Regions from separate parts of the Homo sapiens genome. Here region 2 is linked to region 1. Evidence: promoter capture Hi-C in human tissues and cell types (Jung and others, 2019). All regions are on one chromosome and are shown on one strand. Each heading gives the region's core, a stretch centred on a gene start or on the middle of the fragment in contact. The rest is flanking DNA. Distances are from core to core; before and after follow the strand shown.

What was found. The method cuts DNA at HindIII sites, captures the fragments that hold promoters and counts their contacts. A contact is called where the count stands out against the background at its distance.
Region 2: a fragment that was not itself captured here is called in contact with the fragment with the promoter of SLC6A4 in region 1 in 1 of the 25 tissues and cell types used here (thymus).

Annotation. Positions count from the first base shown.
Region 1 is chr17:30,234,447-30,239,513 of GRCh38, reverse strand. SLC6A4 (solute carrier family 6 member 4) reads left to right here and starts at 3,817. Exons shown (of 15, transcript NM_001045.6): 1 at 3,817-3,901. It overlaps LOC105371720 (a long non-coding RNA gene), which reads right to left and starts at 2,016. Exons shown (of 3, transcript XR_007065698.1): 1 at 1,743-2,016; 2 at 714-1,194. RefSeq lists an enhancer at 285-1,185, cis regulatory regions at 2,181-2,223, 2,007-2,248, 2,637-2,676, 2,553-3,377, 2,249-3,738 and 2 more, a silencer at 3,401-3,583 and promoters at 3,084-3,838, 1,993-3,838, 2,019-3,843, 3,739-4,033, 2,249-4,033 and 1 more. The HindIII fragment of the contact is 6,948 bases long and covers 1,291-5,067 here.
Region 2 is chr17:29,679,468-29,684,534 of GRCh38, reverse strand. The region is part of intron 6 of SSH2 (slingshot protein phosphatase 2); the gene reads left to right. Among named protein-coding and RNA genes, the nearest start is that of SSH2-AS1, 42 kb to the right of the region's middle. The HindIII fragment of the contact is 6,367 bases long and covers 1-5,067 here.

The sequences.
Region 1 (5,067 bases), core at 2,568-5,067:
CTGCCTTGGAGGTGCCACTGAACATGAATGTAGAGTCACCAGAACCATGCCAGGAAAAACTGGGGGTCCCAGGAAAAACCAGGGGTGTCGGGGAGGTGCTGGTGGGAATGGAGCAAGATGACACTCTAAGGACTGAATATTGTCAGCATTTTCCTGGGCCTGAGAAAAAGCCCACAAGGAGGGGTGGGCCTTCTTCTTTCGTTATTGTATAAACAGGGCAGAGACAGGACAGACAGATGGCACCAAGGGCTTCCGGAGGGAGAGCCTGGGATTCGCATGGTTCGGTCCTGGCTGGCTCCACAGGGGACTCACTGCTGGCCTTTGAGACTTCCAGGAAGTGGGTTTTCTTGGTGGTGTTTGGGGCAGGTGTAAATATTTATGTGCCCCTTTCCTCTTAAAGTGAAAGCTTGTATTTATTCTGAGCCCCAGAGCAGCTTCTAAGCCCCACTATTTCTGGGCTCAAGCAGGTGAACAAAGAAAAACTATTGCTGTGCGGTGATTGCCAGGCAGCCTCTTCCCAGCTGCCCAGGACCTGTCGCCCTTGACATCTCCCTGGCTGTCCCTATACACCACCAGCACCAAGCTTCGCAGGTGCCTGCTGGGTTTCTGGCTTGCATCTCTTCCCTGCGGCCACCAGCTGACGCCTGCATTCACATTCTAAGGAACCCGTCTGTCCCAACCACCACGACAACCCCCTTCCCCCCTACTCTTACCTGCAGCCCACGCAGGTCACAGCCATTAGATCCTTCCCCTGAAGCGCTGCTTCCCTCCTGCCGCACTCAGGGCTCCCTCCTGCCTTCCATGCCCAGGACAGGGCCTCCCGGCCTCTCCAGGTCTCTGGAGCAGAGAGGTTGTGCCTTCCTCATGCGGTCAGGCTCAGGCTGGGAAGGAGCGGCCCAGAGGCGGGGGGAGGCACGGGTGCGGGGCTGCCTCTTCCCCGGTAGTGGACGCTGAAGCCTGTCCACCTGAATTGGAGGCGGGGCGGGGCAGTCGACTGACCGCCAGGCAGGGGAGCAGGGCGCGGGCTCAGAGGGAGGGAGTGGGAGGCCGAGGAAGGACAAGGTGCTTGTGGCGATGAGTATCAGAAGGCAGAGCGGAGCTGCTCAAGAGAGGCTGGCTCTGTGGAGGTGAGGACCTGCAGGTGGGCCTGGCCTCTCTGTGGGATGGTACCCAGGGCAGGAGGAAGAGAAACACCTGTTTAGAGAGAGGGGGAGGGTCTGGGCCAGTTGTGTGCGGACTCTGCCATGGAGGCAGGGGGAACCAGGGCGGGGCCGTCTGTGTAATTCTAATGTCATTTGCTAATGGTGGTTGCCCGCAGCTGGGGAGCAAGAGGGGAGGAGATGGGACCACCCGGCCAGAGAGAGGAGGGGTCGAAGGCCCCCTTGGAGGAAGGGCCCAGCGCACAGGGCCTGCAAGGAGTTGGCCCCTTCCCCACCCACAGCTGGGCAGTGCCCACTGAGATCATCCTCCCTACTTCACAAACAGAGACACAAAGGCCAGACAGCTTGAGGTTAAGGAGCTCGGTCAAGCCCACACCACAGTACAGGGTGGGGGCCGGGATTTGACCCAGGTCCACAGGGTGCCCACTCTCTAGGCAGCACCTGCACAGAACAGGGCAGTGCCATAGGGAGGGGCTGCGCGCTGGGCAGGAATGCATCTTCGGCTAGAAAGAGTCTAGAAGGAAGATCAGAAGTGGCGAGACTGCACAATTAAGAAGTGCTAAGAAGTCACACTGGACAGACCTGGTCTTGGTAGCCAAGCGCTGAAGTCACCCCTGCAGCCGTCCTCCGCTTTGGCGCCTCTTCCCAGCGTCCCTGCCCCCCTCCTTTGGCCCTCCTGGAAAGGACACTTTGCGTTTTCTGTTGCCCTTGCCTATACAGCACAAACATGCTCATTTAAGAAGTGGAACGTGGGAGGCAGCAGACAACTGTGTTCATCTGAAAGGAGGAGGCCCCACTCCCGTGCAGGCGCTGCCCCTGGGGGTGAAATTCCCAAGCTTGTTGGGGATTCTCCCGCCTGGCGTTGCCGCTCTGAATGCCAGCACCTAACCCCTAATGTCCCTACTGCAGCCCTCCCAGCATCCCCCCTGCAACCTCCCAGCAACTCCCTGTACCCCTCCTAGGATCGCTCCTGCATCCCCCATTATCCCCCCCTTCACCCCTCGCGGCATCCCCCCTGCACCCCCAGCATCCCCCCTGCAGCCCCCCCAGCATCTCCCCTGCACCCCCAGCATCCCCCCTGCAGCCCTTCCAGCATCCCCCTGCACCTCTCCCAGGATCTCCCCTGCAACCCCCATTATCCCCCCTGCACCCCTCGCAGTATCCCCCCTGCACCCCCCAGCATCCCCCCATGCACCCCCGGCATCCCCCCTGCACCCCTCCAGCATTCTCCTTGCACCCTACCAGTATTCCCCCGCATCCCGGCCTCCAAGCCTCCCGCCCACCTTGCGGTCCCCGCCCTGGCGTCTAGGTGGCACCAGAATCCCGCGCGGACTCCACCCGCTGGGAGCTGCCCTCGCTTGCCCGTGGTTGTCCAGCTCAGTCCCTCTAGACGCTCAGCCCAACCGGCCGCACAGTTTTCAGGGGTCAGTTCCTCCAAGTACAAGGGGCGGTGGCTTCTCTGGAGCTGCAAACTTGTCACTGCTATTTCCTTTCGGTCTTCTACTTCCTATCGTTCCTGGCCTCCTCTTGGGGAGAGGTAGAGCCCTCTCCTTTCCGCCTCAGGGACAACCCAAAGCAAGTACTGCATGTGCCCTTTTTAAAGTTTTAAATAATTTTAGCAAAAAGGATATTAACATTAAATCAATTTTTAAACTTTTTGAAAAAATTATCAAAACTACATGCACATGGTTCAAAACAATAGGCTCCTGCTGGGCCCTTTCAGATAATTCAAATTGTCACCAGGTTGGAGTGCAGTGGTTCGATCACGGCTCACTGCAGCCTCGACCTCCCGGGCTCAGCTGATCCTCCACCTCAGCCTCCTGAGTAGCTGGGAACACAAGCGCGAGCAACCACGCCCGGCTAATTAAAAAAATTTTTTTTCTAGAGATGGGGTCTTGCTGTGTTGCCCAGGCTGGTCTTGAATTCCTGGGCTCAAGCAATCCTCCCGCCTCAGCCTCCCAAAGCACTGTGCTCCTTTTTGACGCAGCTTTGAACTGTAGCTGGTTAACAAAATGAGAACCAGTTCTTCATTCCTTCATTGTGGAAGTCTTTATTGTGAGACTCTGGGGACGGAGAGGAATTAGACAAGGGCCTCTAAGCTGAGCTCACATCCCAGCCGGTCAGTCAGATAAACGCATGGGTATCGAGTACTGCTAGGTCCCAGGAAGAAAGAGAGAGCAGCTTTCGGGATGGGGACGATGGGGAGGTGTCCGAGGTCAAGAGAAAGCGGCACGAGCAGACCCCTGTGTGCCGTCCTGTGGGCGCGGGGCGGCAGGGGAGGCGCACACCTGCTCCTTTGTGCAGCCTCCCCCCTCCCGCAAAGTTAAAGAGCAGGAAAGTCAGGATTCCTCGCTCGGCCCTGCCCTGCCGGCTGCTCCGCGCTCCGCTCCTCCCTGCGAGCGTGTGTGTGTGTCGGGGGTCCCTCCCCTCCTGGCTCTGGGGTCGGGCGCGCACCCCGCCCCGTAGCGCGGCCCCTCCCTGGCGAGCGCAACCCCATCCAGCGGGAGCGCGGAGCCGCGGCCGCGGGGAAGCATTAAGTTTATTCGCCTCAAAGTGACGCAAAAATTCTTCAAGAGCTCTTTGGCGGCGGCTATCTAGAGATCAGACCATGTGAGGGCCCGCGGGTACAAATACGGCCGCGCCGGCGCCCCTCCGCACAGCCAGCGCCGCCGGGTGCCTCGAGGGCGCGAGGCCAGCCCGCCTGCCCAGCCCGGGACCAGCCTCCCCGCGCAGCCTGGCAGGTGGGTCCGCTTTTCCTCTCCGCCTCGAACCCACGTTTCTTTCCAGACCTTCTTCCCCGCCTCGGGGAGGGGGATAGAACCGCTGCGCCCCACCGCCCTGCGAGGAGGCGAGGAGGTGCATGCGCCCCAGCGGTGGGCGCCGGATCCTGCCCCTGCGCCCTCCACGCTCAGCAAGAGCCAGAGCTGAAGCTGACCGGCCAGAGTGGGAGACGAGGAACGTGGAGTGCTCGAAGTGGGCGGGCGTAGGGGGCTCCTTTGTCTATTGTTGCAGGGGCTTTGCAACCTCTTGAGGACCCGTGAAAGACCCCTTAAAGAGGGTCTTGAGCAAAGTGCTGTCCTGCGCTTTGGGAAGAGTTGCTTGCTTTCGTTTCAACCCATGGTTTATGTTTGATCTTTACTTTGCTGTCATCGCGTGCAGGTGGCTTTATGCAAAGGGAGAGTTCTGGTTGACACAAATGCCCAGACAGCTAGAGAAATCTCTGAGTGGCGCCTAAGTGGGCCGAGTCTCCGTGCGCTTGGGTGGTTTCACTGTCAGAGCTGAGGCGCTCTCAGACACCTCACAGGCCATTCAGAATGTATGTGAAACTCCAACTCCAACGACTGTGCTACGTGGTTGAAGGATATAACCATCATTTGCTTGAAAATTGTGTACATTCAAACTTGTTCTTGAAAAAAAGCTCTCTGGAGCTCAAGAGTGGATTTGGGTCTTGGGCTAAGGAGCAGATTTTCTTCTGAACTGGGGCTTTTGCATATTGAATTGTTCCTTTTCCATTTGGGACTCTGAAGAATTTGAGAGGGGTAGAATTTCTGAATCAGACATTACAAAGACTTTGTGTATGTATTTTTACCATCAGTTTTGTCCAGAAAAGTGAACCTGGTCAATGGATTATTTATGAGCCTGCTAGCTAACTCTCATCATAGGAAGACGAGAGCAAATATTTAATGTGTTTTGCCTTCAGTTACATAGGAAAAATGTCTAAGAAGGTGACATTGGGACTTGTGTTTAATGAAACAGAGAACTGTGGGCAGCGTCAGTGTTGGGTTTTTAGGAGCGTAGGGAGCACACAGCTTTGACTCTTTGTCCCATTACTTGCTTCTGTGTGAAGCCACTGAGGCCCCAGGGTTCGGGTTTTCCTGCCACGCACTCTGGGGTGGCAGTGACCGTT
Region 2 (5,067 bases), core at 1,104-3,603, 550 kb after region 1:
AACTGCTTTTTAAGTAACCTGTTCCAGTTGCTTTTTTTTTTTTTTTTTTTTAATGGGGACGGAGTGTCATCACTCTGTTGCCCAGACTAGAGTGCAGTGGCTCAATCTCGGCTCACTGCAACCTCCGCCTCCCGGGTTCAAGCGATTCTCCTGCCTCAGCCTCCTGAGTAGCTGGAATTACAGGTGTACACCACTATGCCAAACTAATTTTTGTATTTTTAGTAGAGATGGGGTTTTGCCATATTGGCCAGTTTCAAACTCCTGACCTCAAGTGATCCACCCACCTCAGCCTCCCAAAGTACTGAGATTACAGGCGTGAGCCACCGTGCCTGGCCCCAGTTGCCTTTTATCACAAAAATATCTTGTGCAGTTCTGCTGTTAAAGTACAAGACATAAAACTAAAGAACATAAGTATCTTAGCCACAGTCTTGAGAAACAAGAATGTTTAGTGAATGTCTTTGGTCGTGTGTTTCCAATTTACCATTATTCCATACCTTCATCTCATCTTTAGATAGTCACAATATAAAGCAAGTGGTTTCAAAGTTACATTTCCATGGAAAAAAAGCTGCCTTTTTATTTCTCTTTTTGAGACAGCGTCTCGCTCTGCTGCCCAGGCTGAAGTGCCGTGATGCAGTCACAGCTCACTACGGCCTCAAATTCCTCCTGGGCTCTAGGAATCCTTCCACCTCAGCCTCCTAAGTAGCTAGAAGTACAGGCATGCACCACCATACCCAGCTATTTGGTCTTTTTTTTTTTTTTTTCCTTATTTTTCTGGAGAGAAGATTTCCTTATGTTGGCCAGGCTGGTCTTGAATTCTTGGGCTTAAGCAATCCTCCCACTTCGGCTTCCCAAAGTGCTGGGATTACAGGCATGAGCCTTGCACCTGGCCTACTCTATTGTAGTCAGTAATGATTCACTTTGGTGATTCTAGGGCACCTACCCTTTGTGGTAGTATACCAGTAGTCCCAGATACAAAGAGATCCCACTTAAACTACAGTCTGTTTTGTTTAAACCTTGCTTTTACCAAATGCTATGCCTCCTTTTTCCTTCTATTGAGTTAAAAAGGATGGTGGGCGGGGCGGGGATGGGGTGGTACGGGATGGCTCCTTAAACTCAAAGCAGAACTTTTTATGTACCTTTGGCTTTAGCTGTACTTTACATTCTATGATGAAAGATGACACACAACACCTGGCCTTTTCGTGTGTCCTTAAGGTTTGTTGCTTTCCTTTTTTATTTTTCCCACTTTTTCTGGAGAAACCTTCGGAAGACTTTGGAATGTGGCTGCTAAGCAGATCTTTACGCTGTGGATAATTAGCCTCAGGAAATCCTGCCAGATGTCTCAAAGCATTGACTTCCTGGTTCAGGATTAGAATGGAACTATGGGGTAGCTAGGGGTGTGACCCAGGCCTAGGGAAATTTAGCCACAAAGAGAGGAGGAGCCTGGGAATGATTCTAATTTTCCTGATGTTGAGGGGAAAAAATCACTTTGTCACTAGAAAGTTTCCCAAACCAATGTTTACCTTATTCCTATATAGAAGTCAACCTGAAAATGACTTGGGGGTTCACAGGAATTCCCAAAGCCAAAGTTATTAGCTTGTATACCACTTAACAGCATTTAATTGTAGGCTCTGAATTTACACAGGCTTGTAAACCAGATTTAGGAAGATTTCTCCTGCATGGTTTTAACTTCTGATTAAGCAACAGAGCTTTCAGTAAGCATTTTCCTATAACAGCACCTACCTTGTTTACATTCATTAGGATTTTAGGACCTCTAATTTAGGTTTTTAATCTTTCTAGATCTGTGTTGTCCAGTATAGTAGCCACTAACCATATGTGCCCCTTCCTTCCTTCTTGCCTGCCTGCCTTCCTTCCTTCTTTCATCTTCCTTCCTTTTCTCTTCTCTTCTTTTCTTTTTTCCTTTTTGTGAAGAACACAGTCTCTCTGTGTTGCCCAGGCTGGTCTCAACTCCTGAGCTCCTGCCTCTGCCTTCCTGAGTGCTGGGATTATAGGCATGAGCCACTGCATACAGCATGCACGTGTCTTTTTAAATAGATTAAAATTAAATGAAATTTCAATTCCTCAGTTCTAACTAGTCACATTTCAAGTATTCAGTAACCGTATGTGCTAGTGGCTATCGTATTAGACAGTACATGTATAGAACATTTTCCATTCTTGCAGAAAGTTCAGTTGGACAGCACTGTTCTAGCTCATATTTCCTTTGTTCAGTTCTCCCTGACCCCCTCCCTTGAAAACCCTATAAAACAGGAACAGGAACCTCATGAAGCTTCAATTGAATCTTCCCCTAGAGACAGAAGACAATAACTGCAGATTCTCCTGACCCAGAATATGAGCAAGCACATGTCTAATCATTTCTCTTTCACTTTGTCCTAAACTTTACCAGAAAGAATGCATATTAATATAGGTATCCAGTAGTTTATACTCAGTAAATTACATCTATCTTTTGCCAATGGCCCTGTCTGAATCATATCTGACCAGTGTCACTAGCCAAAGGAAATTATAGTTTATAGAAGACAAACTTAAAACATGAAAAGCTAGAAACTAGTTTTCATTCTGTTTGCTAAACTTGCTATTATGAAATTCCCATACATCCTCTGCTTTAATGAGTTCCTTGGACAGTAAGAAGTCTCAGATGCTCAGGTAATCTAAAATCATTTCTGTCTCAGTTGTTGTTGAAGGAATTTGAATTTGTATCATTTCATATCTGAGAATGTAAATGTTAATGCTTCAAAATAGTATTAAGCCAAAGTGGAACCCAGATTATGACAAGTACAAATAGTTCTTAATAATACGTTGCAGCCAATTCATTTAGCCCATTTACAAGTTCTTTGAGTATTATGTTATATTTTAATAATTTTTTAAATATGCAGCATAATCTTGGTTTCTAAAGTGTAACATATTTTAAGTTATAAAATAATAGAGCTTCATGGTTTTTTGGGGTTTTTTTTTTCCATTTCTTTTTGTACCCCTAACACCTTGAAATGTCTGGTACATAGTAGGCACTAAATAAATTTTTATTGAATGAATTGAATATTTACTAAAATAAGTAGTTATACTTAAATGGAGAAAAATCTTGAGAGACTGAGGTAACCTGGATAAAAATACCAAGCGTGCCTTATTCAGTCCTTTCCTTCCTGTTGCGTGAAAAAGCTACTTTTTTTTTTTTTTTTTTTTTTTTTTTTTTTGAGACAGTCTCACTCTGTGGCCAGGCTGGAGTACAGTGGTGCAATCTCAGCTCACTGCAACCTCCGTCTCCTGGGTTCAAGCGATTCTCCTGCCTCAGCCTCCCAAGCAGCTGGGACTACAGGCGCACACCACCATGCCCAGCTAATTTTTGTATTTTTAGTAGACGGGGTTTCACCATGTTGACCAGGATGGTCTCTATCTCGACCTCGTGATCCGCCCGCCTCTGCTTCCCAAAGTGCTGGGATTACAGGCACCACGCCCTGCTGAAAAAGCTACTTCTTAATGTAAAAAAGCACTCTGGCCTGAATACAAGCCAAAAATGTAATGTCGATTCCTGTATATCAATGTCACTTGTCCAAAGGTTAACCAAAATCTGGTCACAAGCTTATAGATCACACTCTTTTGCAGCTTCTGTATCTTTTTATATAGTTAATTTCTAGATTTGTCATTGGGCTACCAACCCACCATATTTATACTCAAAATTATACTTGTTGCTAAGAACCTGGCTAAGCACTCACTAAATACAAAACAAAAAGCTACTGTAAAACTATCCCCACTTCATCTTGGGAAGCCGTTTTCAAAACAAATTTTTTTGTGCGCTCATCTCATCTACTCAACAAAACTTGTGGTAGAGCTGTCTTGCTCCTGGACTCTGGCATGGTAGCTGTGTTTCTGTTGTTCAGGTCCAGGTTCTAATGTGGATAAGCTGTTTCAGTCTTGATTTGAATCTCCTGAGCTCTGGAATCACTCTTTTTTTTTTTTTTTTTTTTTTTTTTTTTGAGAGGGAGTCTTGCTGTGTCTCCCAGGCTGGAGTGCAATGGCGCAAATCTCAGCTCACTGCAACTTCCACCTCCCAGGTTCAAGTGATTCTCCTGCCTCAGCCTCCCGAGTAGCTGGGATTACAGGTGTCTGTCTGCCCCTGCACCCAGCTAATTTTTGTATTTTTAGTGTAGAGATGGAGTTTCGCCATGTTGGCCAGGCTGGTCTTGAACTCCTGACCTCGGCCTCCCAAAGTGCTGGGATTACAGGCATGAGTCACCGTGCCTGGCCTGGAATCACTCTTAAGGTGTTAAGCAGCACAGGCCAGCAAGTGTAGTGGAAAGCCCAACTAAGGGCTAGCCTCCTTTAACCCTGCAGTGACTAACAGTTAAAGTTTGGTATTCATTATGTTGTTTTTAAAGCATAATGGTTTCCCCTTCCCCCAATCACTTTCAGATATATTAGAGCACCCATTACAGATTCATATTCAACATTTGTTTTACAGGACAGTATATTCACATATATTGTTTTATTTTAAGTATGTTATGTCTTTATACCTATATCTATGAGAATAGGTTTTATTATTCACAGTTCAAGATGAAGAAATTAAGGCTGAGAGAGGTTAAATAATTTGTTTAAAAAAAAGTTGTAATACTGAAGGAAATCAATCCCAGATCTTTTGGCATAGTAGATGTTCAATAAATGGTAATGACTATTACATTTTAGGCACTTAGACACTATTTTACTCTTTTATTTGTTATTTAATCTTCAAAACAGTACAATGAAGAAGATATTTTTATCCCAGTTTTACAAATGAAGAAATTAAGGCACAAGACAGTTAAGTAATTTGCCTAAGATTATACAGTTGCTGGGCGCGGTGGCTCACGCCTGTAATCCCAGCACTTTGGGAGGCCAAGGCGGGTGGATCACCTGAGGTTGGGAGTTCAAGACCAGCCTGACCAATATGGAGAAACCCCATCTCTACTAAAAATACAAAATTAGCTGGGCGTGGTAGTGCATGCCTGTAATCCCAGCTACTCAGGAGGCTGAGACAGGAGAATCGCTTGAACCAGGAGGTGGAGGTTGCAGTGAGCCGATATCACA